Regions from separate parts of the Homo sapiens genome. Here region 1 is linked to region 2. Evidence: promoter capture Hi-C in 16 types of primary human blood cells and fetal thymus (Javierre and others, 2016). All regions are on one chromosome and are shown on one strand. The core of a region is centred on a gene start or on the middle of the fragment in contact, and the rest is flanking DNA. Distances in the headings are between cores, read along the strand shown.

Region 1 (7,150 bases), core at 66-2,565, 1.1 Mb after region 2:
AGAGGGCCTTGTATGAATATGGAACTAAGAGGCACACTGGCTGCAGACCTGACTTCTCTCATGTACTGTTTCTGTTCATTTTCTTTTTAAAGAAAATATCGTATCACAAAAGGACAAATGTCATGTGATTCCACTTATATGAGGCACCTAAAGTAGTCAAATTCAGAGACAGAAAGTATAACAGAGGTTGCCAGAGGCTGGGGGAAGGGAGAATGAGAAGTTATTATTTAATGGGTGTGGCCAATATTGCCAAGGAAATAGACGTCAGTCTACAGATCAGTTAGTGTTTACATTTTCAAAATTCAACCTAATGTTTATTAGGCTAAAGATTATGTTATCTTGAATTAAGACTCATAATACAACAAAGGTTTAGCCTCCCATCCTGGGTGAACCTCTGGGATTTCTTAACCTCCTTTTGATTTTCTGGCATCACTGAAAGCCGACATATAAACAAACCAGTGTAACACAATCACTGCCCAATGTATTGGTGGTCTTTGGCAAACATGAAGAGTGGGCATTAACGAATGATACTAGACAGTTCTCTTCCCCTGCAAAGACATGTGGACTTCAAATAGGAAACATCAGCATACAGCAATTGTCAGACTCCCAGGTCAGCATGTTTGTTTGGAAAGAGCTCTAGAGTGAAGACCGAAAGACAGGGTTCTGGCTCCAGCTCACCTACACACTTGTCGGACCTCGGCAAATGGAGTGAGTTCTCTGGGCCTTTGCTTGCTCCTCTCTAAAACAGGGACTCAATAGGTGATCTCTAAAGTCCTTCCGTGATCATTCTGTGACCTGGGCCCAATACCGCTCCAGGTCTACCACAGCCGTGGTGTGGAGTGCTATTCATAACTACATAACTGAGAAACTTTCAAAGGAGATTTAATTGTACTAAGACTACCATGCAACCAAATAAAATAATTAGACTGCTACTTTCTCCTTCTGGAGTAATCTGATATTCAGGATGAGAGATTTAACATAGGATTTTATATATCAAAACAAAAATAAAATTGGAAGGAACAATATACAAGAATTTTTGTATAAGGAAGCCTTCTTAACATCTACCTTTCTTTTTAAACGGTCATCACGTCGTTCAGTACCAAAAAATGGTGTCCACCTCCTCAGATTTTTTTGTTGTTGTTGTTGTTTTATTTTGTTTTTGAGACGAGTCTCCCTGTCACCCAGGCTGGAGTGCAGTGGTGCGATCTTGGCTCACTGCAAGCTCTGCCTCCCGGGTTCATGTCATTCTCCTGCCTCAGCGTCCTGCGTAGCTGGGATTACAGGCGCCCACCACCACACCCAGCTAATTTTTTGTATTTTTAATAGAGACGGGGTTTCACTGTGTTAGCCAGGATGGTCTCAATCTCCTGACCTCGTGATCTGCCCACCTCGGCCTCCCAAAGTGCTGGGATTACAGGCGTGAGCCACTGCGCCCGGCCCACCCCCTCAGGTTTTCTAATGACACTACCAATATATAGAAAACAGAGGCAACGCTTATGAGCCTCTTATAACTGAATGAAAGATCAAGGTGCTTGTTATACAGACGACATATAGGGAAGCCTGATGTAGGAAAAAAAAATGAAAACTTCTAAAATTCCTTTCTGTTTTCATCTGAAAATTTGCCCTCAGAAATGAGAATAATGAAAAATTGCAAGTATCGTTTTATAAATGATGAGTTGCATGTGTTTTTATTGTTAATTTTGTGTGACGAAAACTGTTTCACTTCCAATGTTCATATACTGCTACCTGGCTATACTCTGCAAAAGGATTTATGAAAAAGATCTTCATAAAAAAAGTCTATAGTACCAGCCAGTACAGCCCTTTTGTGTGGAAAGGCACTAAACAGAACTCCCCAGTGCAAGAGCAAAGGGCATTTTTCTCTTCAGGCGACACAGTGATTTCCTCCAAGAAAAGAAGAATTGAATAACCGCTTTGATTCTGAGTTTCCGCTCATGGACTTCTGATCTACACTGGTCCTTTTCCTCCACATTGTTCCTGGAGAAACTGGCAGTAGACTAGACCTTGGCTCCAGCATCCTTTCATTCTTACGGAGATGAGAAACCAGGGACTCATTGCCCTACTTTCTTAAAAAGCCCAGGGCAAAGAAATGGATGAACTCACCTAGAGATTCTGATATTGGAAAGAAGTTGCAATCTGTCCCATGACAGTTTTATGAGAAGTTCAATCTACCCCAAGAGTCTGAAAGAACCCATATTGTGTTATTAAAAGCAATGGTTCGAATCTACCTGAATTCAACATAAAGCTATGCTTTTGTTAAAAGAATGTTTTAGGCCAGGCGCGGTGGCTCACGCATGTAATCCCAGCACTTTGGGAGGCCAAGGCAAGGAAATTGCTTGAGGCCAGGAGTTCAAGACCAGCCTGGCCAACATGGTGAAACCCCTTCTCTACTAAAAGTACAAAAATTAGCCAGGCATGGTGGCGGGTACCTGCAGTCCCAGCAACTGTGGAGGCTGAGGTGGGAAAATTGCTTAAACCTGGGAGGCAGAGACCGCAGTGAGCCAAGATCGCACCACAGCACTCCATCCCGGGCGACAGAGACCCTGTCTCAAAAAAAAAAAAAAAAAAAAAAAAAAAAAAAAGAACATTTTATAAACTATGTCAATCAAAACTAAATTCTTGTTAGTTCTATATTTTCATGGCAATGAGCCTGCAGACCCTGTGAAGGCATTACAAACTATGCACGTGCTGAAACTTGGAGCTTATCTGCAAGCTAATGAAGACATGTTGGTCTTTTATTATCCCTTTTATTACCAAAATGGGGTGACCGACTTTATTATACAAAAGCCATATAAGTCCTTTGCAGAGTCAGAGACTAACTCTGTCACTTATTTGCTATGAATGTGGGCATTTTTTACTTACATGAGCCTCGATTTCAACAAACTGAGAACAATGTCTACCTTCAAGGTGAGAAATAAACTAATATTCATAAAGTATTCCCAACTGTGCCTGACACACGAAATCTCCAGCAAACAGCAGCTGCTGCCAGCATCACATCATCACTCCATGGTGCAAGTCATTTTGAAATGATCACATGATTTGAAAATATTACCAAACTAAATGTCTTTCCAAGTGCAGCAAAGATATCCAGATGTTTCCTGGGTCACCTGAAGTCACCATTATTAACCCAATAAATGGCCAGAGACACTTAAATCCTCTCTAAGTGAAGAATGAAGAGGTCTTTCTAGTTCTGATTCTATAACATTAACTAAGGGTTGTCTGGATACCACCCTTAAGTAACAAAATATTACAAAGCAATCATACACCAGATACTTCATTTTAAGACAGAAATGGTGTCTGAAAACCAGAAGAAAAAAATTTACCAAGTTCTTTCATAAGCAGACTATTATTCTTATCCTCAAATAACTAAAAATTATCTGCTAAAACCATCGAAGTAGTCATTTCTTGAGTATACTTCTTTGGAGTCCAAATATGACACCACTAAGGGAATCCTCACAATGGGAAACAGTTGCCATGAGTGATGAGAACACCAAGAATGCTCAGCTCAGAGGCAGCATTCCGTCTCTGCTCTGCCTAATAATAGCTGCTGGAGCTACTTCCAGCCACTTAGGCCTCTGAGTCTCAGATGCCTCATGTATAACACCACCTACTCTACAGGGTTGTTTTGTAAATCAGAAATGAAATAAAACGATGATAAAGCTTTTTATCATCCGTAAAGTAATATAACTGTTGTCAGGTGTGGTGGGTGCTGGAGCCATCCTCCTGGTGAAAGCCAGTTGATAAACTTTCAAGAATTTTGTGAGCCACTTGTTAAACCAGAAATAGCTGGAAATCAGCCACAGTGGGAGATTTACACTATGGAAATGGCCAGACGTTGCCAATCAGGACTTTTTTTTCCTGGAGAACTGGTTCCTAAGCATTTAACAGCACACTATTGGTCCTAGTCGCTGTTGTAAATAGATATAAAGCTTCCTAGGCCTACAGATGAGTGAGCAAACATTAATGGGAAAGTAATCTACTATGAGGTAATATCTCAATCAGACTCTTAAAACATTCATTGAATGAGCAAAGCAAGAAATAAGAGAGCATACTAAGAGATGAAAATGGAAAACTATCACGTGACAGCAACCTCTTGTACATGCTGTGGTCTGACCTTGATATTGAATGGCATCATCAAATTGCATAATCACTAAGATCTACCAAAACATAAAGCAAGTTAAAAGCTAAATTTACTCAAGATATAGTGGCTACTGTAGTGAAATCAAAAAGAAATAAATACAAATAACTAAATAATAATTAGGCTCTGAGAAAAATTCAGTCAAGTATGTCCTTTCTGAGAAAAAACTTCCAAAACCACAACAACCAAAAAAAAAAAAAAAAAAAAAAAAACTTGTCAAAATCAATGACAGAGTCTGGGTGCGGTGGCTCACTCCTGTAATCTCAGCACGTTGGGAGGCCAAGGTGGGGGAGGATTGCTTGAGGCTAGGAGTTCAAGACTAGCCTGGTCAATGTAGCAAGACCCCATCTCTAATAAAAATAAATAAATAAATAATAAAAACAATGACAGAAAAGGCTTTTAACCTCAAAATGTAAGAAACACTCCACCCGAAGCACACTCTCAATCATGTCTCATTGCATCTTTGTTAGACAGATAACCAGTCCCACCCTGATGGATTTCAATTCATACAACGGCACCATCACAGAGCCCAGATGAAGCTCCTGTTTCTCATGTTCTTCAAGGACTTTCCTGTGCCGACATTCACAGGAACAGAACAAAACTAAGTTGAAGACTTTCTTTAGATAAAGGAAATAGAAAAACACAATACCATTTGAAGGCAAAAGTGCCCTTGCGGAAAAAAATTGATGAGGGACAGAATCATCTTCAACTGCTAGGTCCAAAAATGCAGTCTGCAATTCTGCCAAACTCATCCCACACAGGACTCTGCTGACACAGGTTACTGTATTGCAAGAGGATGAAACTGGCTTAGATTAGAAAGATTTGTCCCAATTCAAGGAATGAATCAGTGAGAGATAAAGGGTAGGGAAATGTGTCTCATTCAAGCCAAATTTCAGTTTTTGCAAGTGCAAAAAGATAACAAAAAATGAGAATTGTGGGGAATGGAAAATGCTTGATAGTGATAAGTCTGAAGATAGAAAAGAATAGACTCTGCAGCCGGCAAAAATATTATGACATGGAGCCAGGAGGGAAAAAATGTTGGCCCTTTATTTTCTTAAATTCTTTCCTGAAAACGTGGGCTTTTCATATCTGCTTAACCCTGAGAAGGCTCCAAACACACACATCGTAAGACATTACACAAAATATTTTTTGATATGTAGGTTTCTAATCCAAAAATCTGAAATTTGAAATACTTCAAAATTCACTATTTTCTGAGCACCAACATGATGCTCAAAGGAAATGCTGACAGGAGCATTTTGGATTTTGGATTTTGGATTTTGGGATTAGAGATGCTCAACAGGTAAATAAGCAAATATTCAAAAAAAAATCCTAGATCTAAAACAGTTCTTGTCCCAAGCATTTTAGATAAGGGATACTCAACCTGCATTATTATGTTGAATGTGTCTTTGGCTTAGAATATTGTCAGTTTTTCATAAACTAGAAAAATCAATCAGATGCCAAGATTCTTTAAAGTTTTATAGATTTCTGGAATAAAACCCTAAACTATTTAGAGTTAATTTACTTTGCAAATATGAAATTGTATGGAAGAAAAAGACATCACTCCATTTCTCAGTTTTTCACCCTTGATTTCCAATTTTCTGTGGTACAAGATCTCTACCTAAATCCACATTAAAGCATTACATTTAATCTCCTTCCATCACTAAGCCTTTTACAGAGTATGAAAACTGGAAGCCACCTTGCCATGGGAACCCACATTCTCTCTGATTGACAAACTTTGTACTGCTGGAACAATACATGGATGGGAAAGAGGAGCCCCAACGAAAAGCTCAGCTCATCAACCCTCCAAGTCCTCAGTTTTCGACTAACACAAAATCTGGCAGAAGAGCCCAGGCTTCCTTACTCTCTGGCACTCATGCTCTCCATCATCTACCCGTGCTTCTTGTTTTCTTAAGAAGAAAAACTCAGTCATAATGCAAAAGAAAAGAAAAAGTGGTTACATAGAAATCCACTTTCAGAAAAAGCCAGAAGAGATTTTGATGTAATAGCAACAAAAAATTTTGAAGTAGGCATCAAATGGATGTTACAGACTGATGTTTGTGCCCTCCCAAAATTCATTTGTTAAAATCCTAACCCCAAAGTGATGGTATTAAGATGTAGGGGTTTTGGGAGGTGATTAGGTCATGAGGTTAGAATCTCCGTGAATGGAATTAGTCCCCTTACAAAAGAGGCCCCAGAGAGCTCCCTCGCCCCTTCCAGAATGGGAGGACATATTGAAAAGGCACCATCTATGAACCTGGAAACAGGCCCTCACCAGACACCGAATCTACCACTGCCTCGATTCTGGACTTCCCAGCCTCCAGAACTGTGAGAGATACATTTCTGTTATTTATGAGCCACTCAGTCTATGGTACTTTGTTACAGCAGCCCAAATAGACTAAGATAATGGAGATAAATAGAAAAGAAATAGAGCAGGGTGGACAGACCTAGATCATCAATGAAGAAACAAGTGAAAATGTGTCAGATAGACATGGGGCACATTGCAAACTTTTTTTTGGTGGGGGGATTATACAGGAAACTAGGTATTGTTTTTAAGCTGAATTCTCAGAACCAGAAGTATGCTGGTTTCCAAAATAGGTTGATGAGATGCAGCTCCCACAGATGAGACCGTGAGCTCAGACACCATTCCCCAGAGCCAGCTGAGGATGAGTGGGCACTCAAGAGTTATAGGGTGTATTTTAAAATAGAAATTAGCTTCTGGATTTTGCAGACTTTTCCAGAATACCTCTGACCAATCAATAGCTTTCACAAGGGTGACCCTGAAATTCATCAACGTTTTACATTTCCAGACCCCATCTCTGAGGTTTCTACTTTCCCCAGATACTTGGAGAAACCTGGGAACAAGGCAGGAGTTATTAAAATACTAAGAAGGCCAGAAGCAGGAAGGTATGGAAACTTCTACAGCACTCCCCAGAGAAACGGAACATGAGGAAGAAACTTGGACTTTGCAACATCTTTTTTGAAAGTGAATAGAAA
Region 2 (7,174 bases), core at 2,782-5,281:
AGAAACTGAGGTACATGGTGGTTAGGTATTTTACCCAAGGCTATACCCCTCATAAGGTCCATACCTTTCAACAGGGGACTTTACCTGTCACCATGACTTTTTAAAATATGAGCCTTGTTCCCAATATGGATTTAAGTAAGTGGCATCATGACTACCCAACAATGGAAAGAGAGAGAAAACTCCTAGCATGTCTGCAAGTGAGCTATTTTGAGATACTACAGAGTTGCAAATCATGCTATTTCTAAGACTACCCACTCTTTTAAGCCTCCTTGACATAAAATATGATCCATTATTCTTATTTAATGTATCTATCTTCACACTTCACATTAAAATAATGGCACCTGGCTTTCTGGAACATGAACAGCAACACAACAGGATTCTGGCTACAGTAAGCCACAGTGAGCATGCAGCTGGTAGAACTGTGTAGAACATAAAATGATGACATTCTAATCCAGCCCTGGCCATCAGTAACAACTGCTTTAGGAAAGTCACTAAAGAATCTGTTTCATGCAAGTAATGGCATTGCCGAATGTGTAAGCTGCTACTTCTTTTCTGAAGGGCAATTTCAATGCGCCTGCCACAGCACCCTGTAGTTCATGACTAGGAATTCATCCTCAGGAAACATCAACAATACAAATGTGTGAAAGAGGACATTCACTGCAACATTCTTTATAATAGCAAAACACTGAAAACAACCTAAATGTTGATTGTAAGGGAATGTTAACTCATGGCACCATGTATATAATAGCACATAAATACACAGAAATACCATGCAACCATTAAAAAATATACTGCTTATATGTATTTATTAGCATGGAAAATAGACCACAATGTATGAAAATAATATATGGAAAAAGCAGGTTAATAGCAGAAACCATTCCATTATGTTTTTTTTAAAGAATGGTCAAGTACGTGTCTACAGAAAAAAAAAATGTCAAGAAGAATACAGAACAAAGATTTACAATGTTGATTTCTGATGTTCAAATTCCCTGTGATTGTCACTTTCTTCCTTAAACTTTTCTTGTTTTTTTTAATTCTTATACTGAATGGGTCTTACTCTTATCCTAACAAAAATTGCCGTTTATATTTTGAAAAAGATAAAATGGAGCAACGGTAACTATTCCTGTTCACAAAGGGTATACTGTGGGGACTGTATGTTGTGTAGAACATAGTAGAGCAATAAATAGGAAGCATTTGGGCAAAGTCCCTTTTGGCTTCTTCAGCTCTAGGAATCTTCTTTCAGTTAATTTTTTCTTCATTAGTTAAGCTGCTACCCCAATGCTGTCTGGATAAGAAATGACCTCTGCTTCAGGAGACCTCGAGATGATAGCTGTATACCAGGCACAAACAGATCAGAAAGCTCTGGAATTATTTTGGTTCTGGTTCTCCCCTAAGCAGATCCTCAGATAAAGATTCAAGTGCAGGTAGTTTAACCTGGGCAGTGACAACATGATGGACTGGCAGGGAAGAAATTCAGAAAGGGAAGGGAAGGACACCAGCATGAGGTGCACTGTCAAGCAAGTTCCACTGGGGGCAGCTGGAGCTTCAACCCCCTGGGGAATCCTAAGGGACAAGTCAGGGCAAGTGGCTCAGTTATCCTGTCTGAGGAGTGAGAAAGTAGGGAATTTATCAACTAACTTTCACCAATCACAGGTTGAAGGCTAATCCCAGGGCACAGGAATTCCCTGGCTCTTCTGGCCTGCTCTGTTTGCAGGCCAAGTGGGCTCCAGGGACCAGAGAAAGCCCTCCAAGATGAGTCATGGGTACAGACAGTTGGAAATCGGAAAAAATGCTAAGTGCCAGGGGCACTAAGAGGATATGCAACAAAAAGTGACCTCTTTGAGAGGAGACTTTACCTGATGGTCTGAACATATTGAGAAAACAGAAAGAAACTAGGCAAATAAAAACACCTGACAATAACTCCTAATGGGGAAAAAAGTTATGTGTAAAAGGAAAAAAAAAAAATTAGAGGGCATGGTGGTGCATGCCTGTAGTACTAGCTACTAGGGAGGCTGAGGTGGGAAGATGGTTTGAGCCTGGAAGGTGGAGGTTGCAGTGAGCCAAGATTGTGCCACTGCACTCCAACCTGGGCAACAGAGAGAGGCCCTGTCTCAATAAGAAGAGGGAAAAAAAAGATGGGTAAGGTGGCTCACACTTATAATCCCAGTATTTTGGGAGGCCCAGATGGGAGGATCACTTGAGGCTAGGAGTTGGAGATCAGCCTGGGCAACATAACAAGAGACAGGTCTCTACAAAAAAAAAAAAATACCCGGGTGTGGTGGCATGCGCTTGTAGATCCAGCTATTCAGGAGGTTGAAGTGGGAGGATCACTTAAGCCCAGGAGTTTGAGAATGCAGTGAGCTATAACTGTTTCACTGCACTCCAGCCTGGGTGACAAAGCAAGATCCTGTCTCTAAAATAAATAAATAAATGGAAAAGAAATCATAGATTACTATGTGGCTCTGTTGTGATTGTCTTTACATGGCCATAATACTGTAAACATTGACTAATGAAAATTACGCTGTAACTACATTAAGAAGAGAAGGAGAAAAGACAAAGGTGCGTGGGTTTGAGGACAGGTTTAAGAGAGCTACACTGTAGAATTATTTGAGTCTTTCAACTACGTGTAGGTAAGACTTTGATAAAGCAGAAACAAGAACCACCATCAATACAATCACGGTAACAGGACACCTCCATTAATAAAACACACAGTTGTCTTGGGGTCAGCCTGCTGAGTATCAAACTGCATTCCAAGTTTCAAATAAAGGATTGACAAACCAACTTTCAGAAAACAGTTCTTTGCAATACTTAGGAGTGACTTTAGATAGCAGGCATTTCTCAAACCACCCTCCTCCTCCTCACCCCCTGCTCCCCAACTCCCCCATCCAATGCCTGACAAAATCCCAAAGTCTGCAATATTAGCTGTAGCCTTTGCTACTTACAACTAAACATAATCATTAAAATAAAGTGAAAGAGAATTCTAGATCCAGGGTTACAGCCTTTGATATCTGAACCCACACTAAACTTCAAAATTAGATTTGCCTTGCAAAGGAGCTGAAGAAATCACTTTCTCCACTCTTAGCCCATCTATCTTTTTTTAGCCTATCTGATGCAGCCTACCTGTCCTTTTTAGTAATGCTTGATACATGGGTAGCGCCTTGGTTTAAAAGCACCTCCTCCTACACCTCTCATCTGACCTCAACGCTATCCTGCTTCTCAGATGAGAACTCCACAGGCCACAGGGTTGAGGGATCTGACAGACATCAGGAGGGGACAGCGACAGGAACAAGCAAGAGTGTCTGAGAAGGGCTCCTGTAGGTACCAAAGCTTCTCCACCTCTGGCCTCAGCTGTGGAGGGAATTCGTGGGGATGGAGATGGGGATGGGGGTGGGGGGATGAACTTAGATGGGAAAGAAAGGTTACAACTTCAGTTTCGCTGTCCTCCAACTAAAATTTACCATTTTTTTTTTGCACGATCAATGTAGCAAAGACCCACAGTAAGGAAATACCTGTGACTATCAACAGAAATTAGACATCTCCACTTCACATCGCGGTTGCCGCAGATCTCTTGAAATACCATTTGTGCAGACCACAACGTCAACACTACAGTAGGAGTTACCGCTGCCGCTGGCCCCTGCGGTTTCTGCCCTTCATCAAGAAGCCAGTCTAGGACCCCCTCACAAGTGTGTTCTAATCCTTTAGGCCCTGTGTCTTTTAAATCACGTTTTCCGGGAAGGAGTACAAACTCTTCAGACTACCAAGCCCGCCATTTAAATTGGGAACTTCAGAGGCCGGAGCCCTGGAGCCGGAGACCCTCCCCGACAGCACAAGGTCGCCCGCAGCCCGCGCGCCCCCACCCCCTCGACCTCTTGGAGGTGGGGATCCCCTCAGGGTTACCTGGGGGCCCCGTTAGGAACACGTGCCGGGCCATACTGGTGGGCGGGGGTAGGGGTTGCGGTCAGGGGAGCAGTCCAGGTTGGGGTCGCAATTCAGGTCAGGTCCGGACCAGGGTCGCGACTCAGGACCCGCCCACCGCGTGTCGCAGGCCCCGCCCCCAAGCGGTGCTTTGACCGGAAGCACCGCCCTCAAGACCACGCATGCGCCTTCTCCCGAGTCCCCGGTCCGCGCCTGCGCATTCAGCCCTCGGCATTGGCGCCTGTGCCGCGGCAGTTCCTATAGGCGGAGCGGGTTGTACGGTCTCTTAAGTTTCATTCTGGGTTCAGGGCTTTTGTGGGGTATTTGCAGAGATAAGTGCGTGAGAACGTCAGTTATTAAACTATTGCTGCTTCAAGTCAGCGCCATCACCCAAGTTCTGCCCCTTGACTCCGGACCTAGGAGCTGAAATTGCCCAAGGCTGCCGGGACAGCCCTTTTGTAGAAGGTTTGTGACCTGGAAGCATTCCTCAAAGGGGGATGCCATGTTAATGACTCCAACTTTGTTCTCAAACATTCCTGCAGAATAGAATCAGCTGGGGAGTTTTAAACTTGCTCTGATGCCTGGGTTTCACCTGCAGTAATAGGGAGTGTCAGAAGACAAAATTACAAGTTTAGTTTAAAGATCTAATTGGCTTATATTTAGGATCTAGAATCGAGAAATAGATCATTTCATAAAGCAAATAGAGTGTTCCAATGAGTTGTGCAGAGGAGGTTGGCTTTATGGGCAAAAAAAGGCTGAAGAACAAAACAAAGAGTGGGTATTTCAAAGTTACTTTCCTTATAGGGTTAAAACAGATTGGACTTCGTTATTGTACTGACTCAGGTTAACTACAATCTCCTGTTTTTTGGGAAAACGGGCCTGTTTCAAAGTTCAGTTTGGTTACATGGCACTTGGCACAAGTGACTCCATTCTGGTTTGGTCTAGTCTGCTAGGACCTAGTGCAGGAGGTTAGTCCAAAACAATGGCCTCCCATAAATCTTGTTTAACATGAGTAATTGGTCTTGAGCGAGTCTTGAGCACCTGTATTCTTTTTTCTTCTTTCTAAACTCCAGGAAGTTCCTGAAGTGCGCTAGGGTTGAGAACCACTGGTGTAGGCAGGCTTCCCGTCCTCAGCCATGCATAGGACGCCCAGTTTTCCCTCTTTACTTTCACACCAAAGTGTATAAAGATCTCCTCTTGCAAAGAATTAAATAGCTTCTCCGTCTCACTTTACCACTGCAAGTGTTCCGGCCAACGAATGACGTGGCAGTGGCCTTGGGCCACATTTACCTGTAAACTCTTTCAGTCTAACATGTGTACAGCTTAATTTGTAGTCAGTCGTTCCCCATCCTGGCTGAGAAAGCAGTTCAGTGAGTGCTCAACTTAATTGGTTTCTGCCCACACATGGACCTCTTGGTTTCCCTTTAGCCTGAGACATATGCCAGTCCAATGATTATCTAAAAAAACAAAGTTGGATTTGTAAAATATAGCTGTCATCACCATCATTTCTGCAACATTTGTAATGCTCTATTATTATAACAGTATACTATTTATTATCCCAACTGTTAATGTAGGGCCTTCCACCTTGATTTATTTTGCAGTCCATATATGTTGAATACAGTGAAAAGTTGATATAGTAAAGTAAATTCATAGGAGGAGCTTCCAAAAAAAAGGAAAAAAGTATATGTATCTCTTGTATCAAAAGTACTCGTTTTAAATGTTAATCAGATAGCATTTTCCATCACTGAAAAGCAGTTTGGATTTGCAAGGCTCACCGGAAGTTGGGTTCTTTTGTTTTGTTGCTGTGCCTGGAATTCTGGCATCAGTTTAAGTAGCTCAAAGATACATGGAATTCAGATATGGTGAATCAACGTCTCACAAAACAGAAAAAAAGACTCCATAGTTGAATGTACTTTATCCATGGAAAATGAATTATTTGGATGGTAGTTCCACGGATATCTTCTTGTTAGAAAATTCATTGATTTGATGCTTAATTTCTACAGTTTCCTGTATGTGTTATTAGGTAACAATAACAAAAAATTAAATAGCTTATATCTCTTAGAGATTAACAACAAAAGAAGATGGCATAAATTGAAACAAATTTTAAAATAAATGGGATCTTAAAGTACTGTACCATACTGAATCCAACTTTTGCTTCCTATCTAATCAACATCCAATGGACGGATGTTTGTGTCCCCCCAAAATTCATATTGTTGAAATCCTAACCCACAAGGTGAAGGTATTAAAGTGTGGGGCCTTAAAGAAGCAATTAGGTAATCAGGTCACTAGAGTGGAGTCCTCATGAATGTGATTAGTACCCTTAGAAAAAGGCGGGAGAAAACTTGCTTTCTATCTCTCTGCTCTCTGCCATGTGAAGATACGAGGAGAAGACTGCTCTCTGTCAACCAAGATGAGGGCCTTCCCCAAGAACCCAGTCGTGTTGGCACCCTGATCTTAAACTTCAGCCTCCAGAGTTGTAAGAAATAAATGTTTTTTTGTTTAAGCCACTCATCTGTGGTACTCTATTATAGTAGCCTGAGCTAACACACAAGGTAGAATTAATTACCTAAGGAACAGGTGATTCCAAAGATTTCTTCTGCAACACCTGGGTGCAGCCTCACTTATGACAGGATGCAGTACAGTTCTTTATTAAAACAGTTTGTAGGTACAACTCTACAGTCTCTACAATTATAAAATACCCTAAAGTCCAAAAAACACTGTTTATTTTGTTTTCATATCTACCCTTTTCCCAGAACTGTCCTAATTTTTAAACTGCAAATTCTGTGTCTTAGAAAGCCCCTCAATCCCGAGCAAACCAGGATGAATGGTCATCAAACTGTTAAAGGAACATTTGGGAAGTAAAGCAGAAGGTTTCATGTGGTTAAACAAGATAATTCCTTCTTACAAACAAGTCAAAGGCTAATAATACTTTATTGTAAGCTGGTTGTCTTGTCAGCGGTGGTTATAGAATGACTGTTTAATGCAGTCTGTACCTAAACTCTGAGCCATTCATACCCTGAGTTCTAATCTCTGTGCAGAACAATGTTCTATCCTGCCAGTAACCCAGTAGGACAGAAGCAGAGATGACTCTACACCCTCACCCCACCCCTTCCTACACCGCATGCCTGGATGTCCCCCACGCCCAGCTGCTACTGGCATCCTGTGGCATCTTCCTGGCTGGACACAGAACAAGAGTTCTGGCATATTTAGGGTACAGTTTCCTAAGTACAGGAAAACTGAAAACAGAACAAAGAAAAAG

The links. Contacts are between HindIII fragments. The CHiCAGO score rates a contact against its expected background, and 5 or more counts as called.
Region 1: a contact is called between a fragment that was not itself captured here and the fragment with the promoter of NTPCR in region 2, in 1 of 17 cell types (total CD4 T cells). The highest score is 6.5, in total CD4 T cells.

Annotation. Positions count from the first base shown.
Region 1 is chr1:231,858,671-231,865,820 of GRCh38, reverse strand. The region is part of intron 9 of DISC1 (DISC1 scaffold protein); the gene reads right to left. All of the region lies in intron 12 of TSNAX-DISC1 (TSNAX-DISC1 readthrough (NMD candidate)), which reads right to left. Among named protein-coding and RNA genes, the nearest start is that of DISC2, 44 kb to the right of the region's middle. The HindIII fragment of the contact is 4,730 bases long and covers 1-3,680 here.
Region 2 is chr1:232,947,468-232,954,641 of GRCh38, reverse strand. It overlaps NTPCR (nucleoside-triphosphatase, cancer-related), which reads right to left and starts at 4,031. Exons shown (of 5, transcript NM_032324.3): 1 at 3,898-4,031. The coding sequence starts at 3,931. LOC107985361 (a long non-coding RNA gene) reads left to right here and starts at 3,093. Exons shown (of 2, transcript XR_001738525.2): 1 at 3,093-3,314; 2 at 3,486-6,422. RefSeq lists enhancers at 1,443-1,652, 1,588-2,087, 3,216-3,755, 3,756-4,297, 4,210-4,309. The HindIII fragment of the contact is 8,064 bases long and covers 3,330-7,174 here.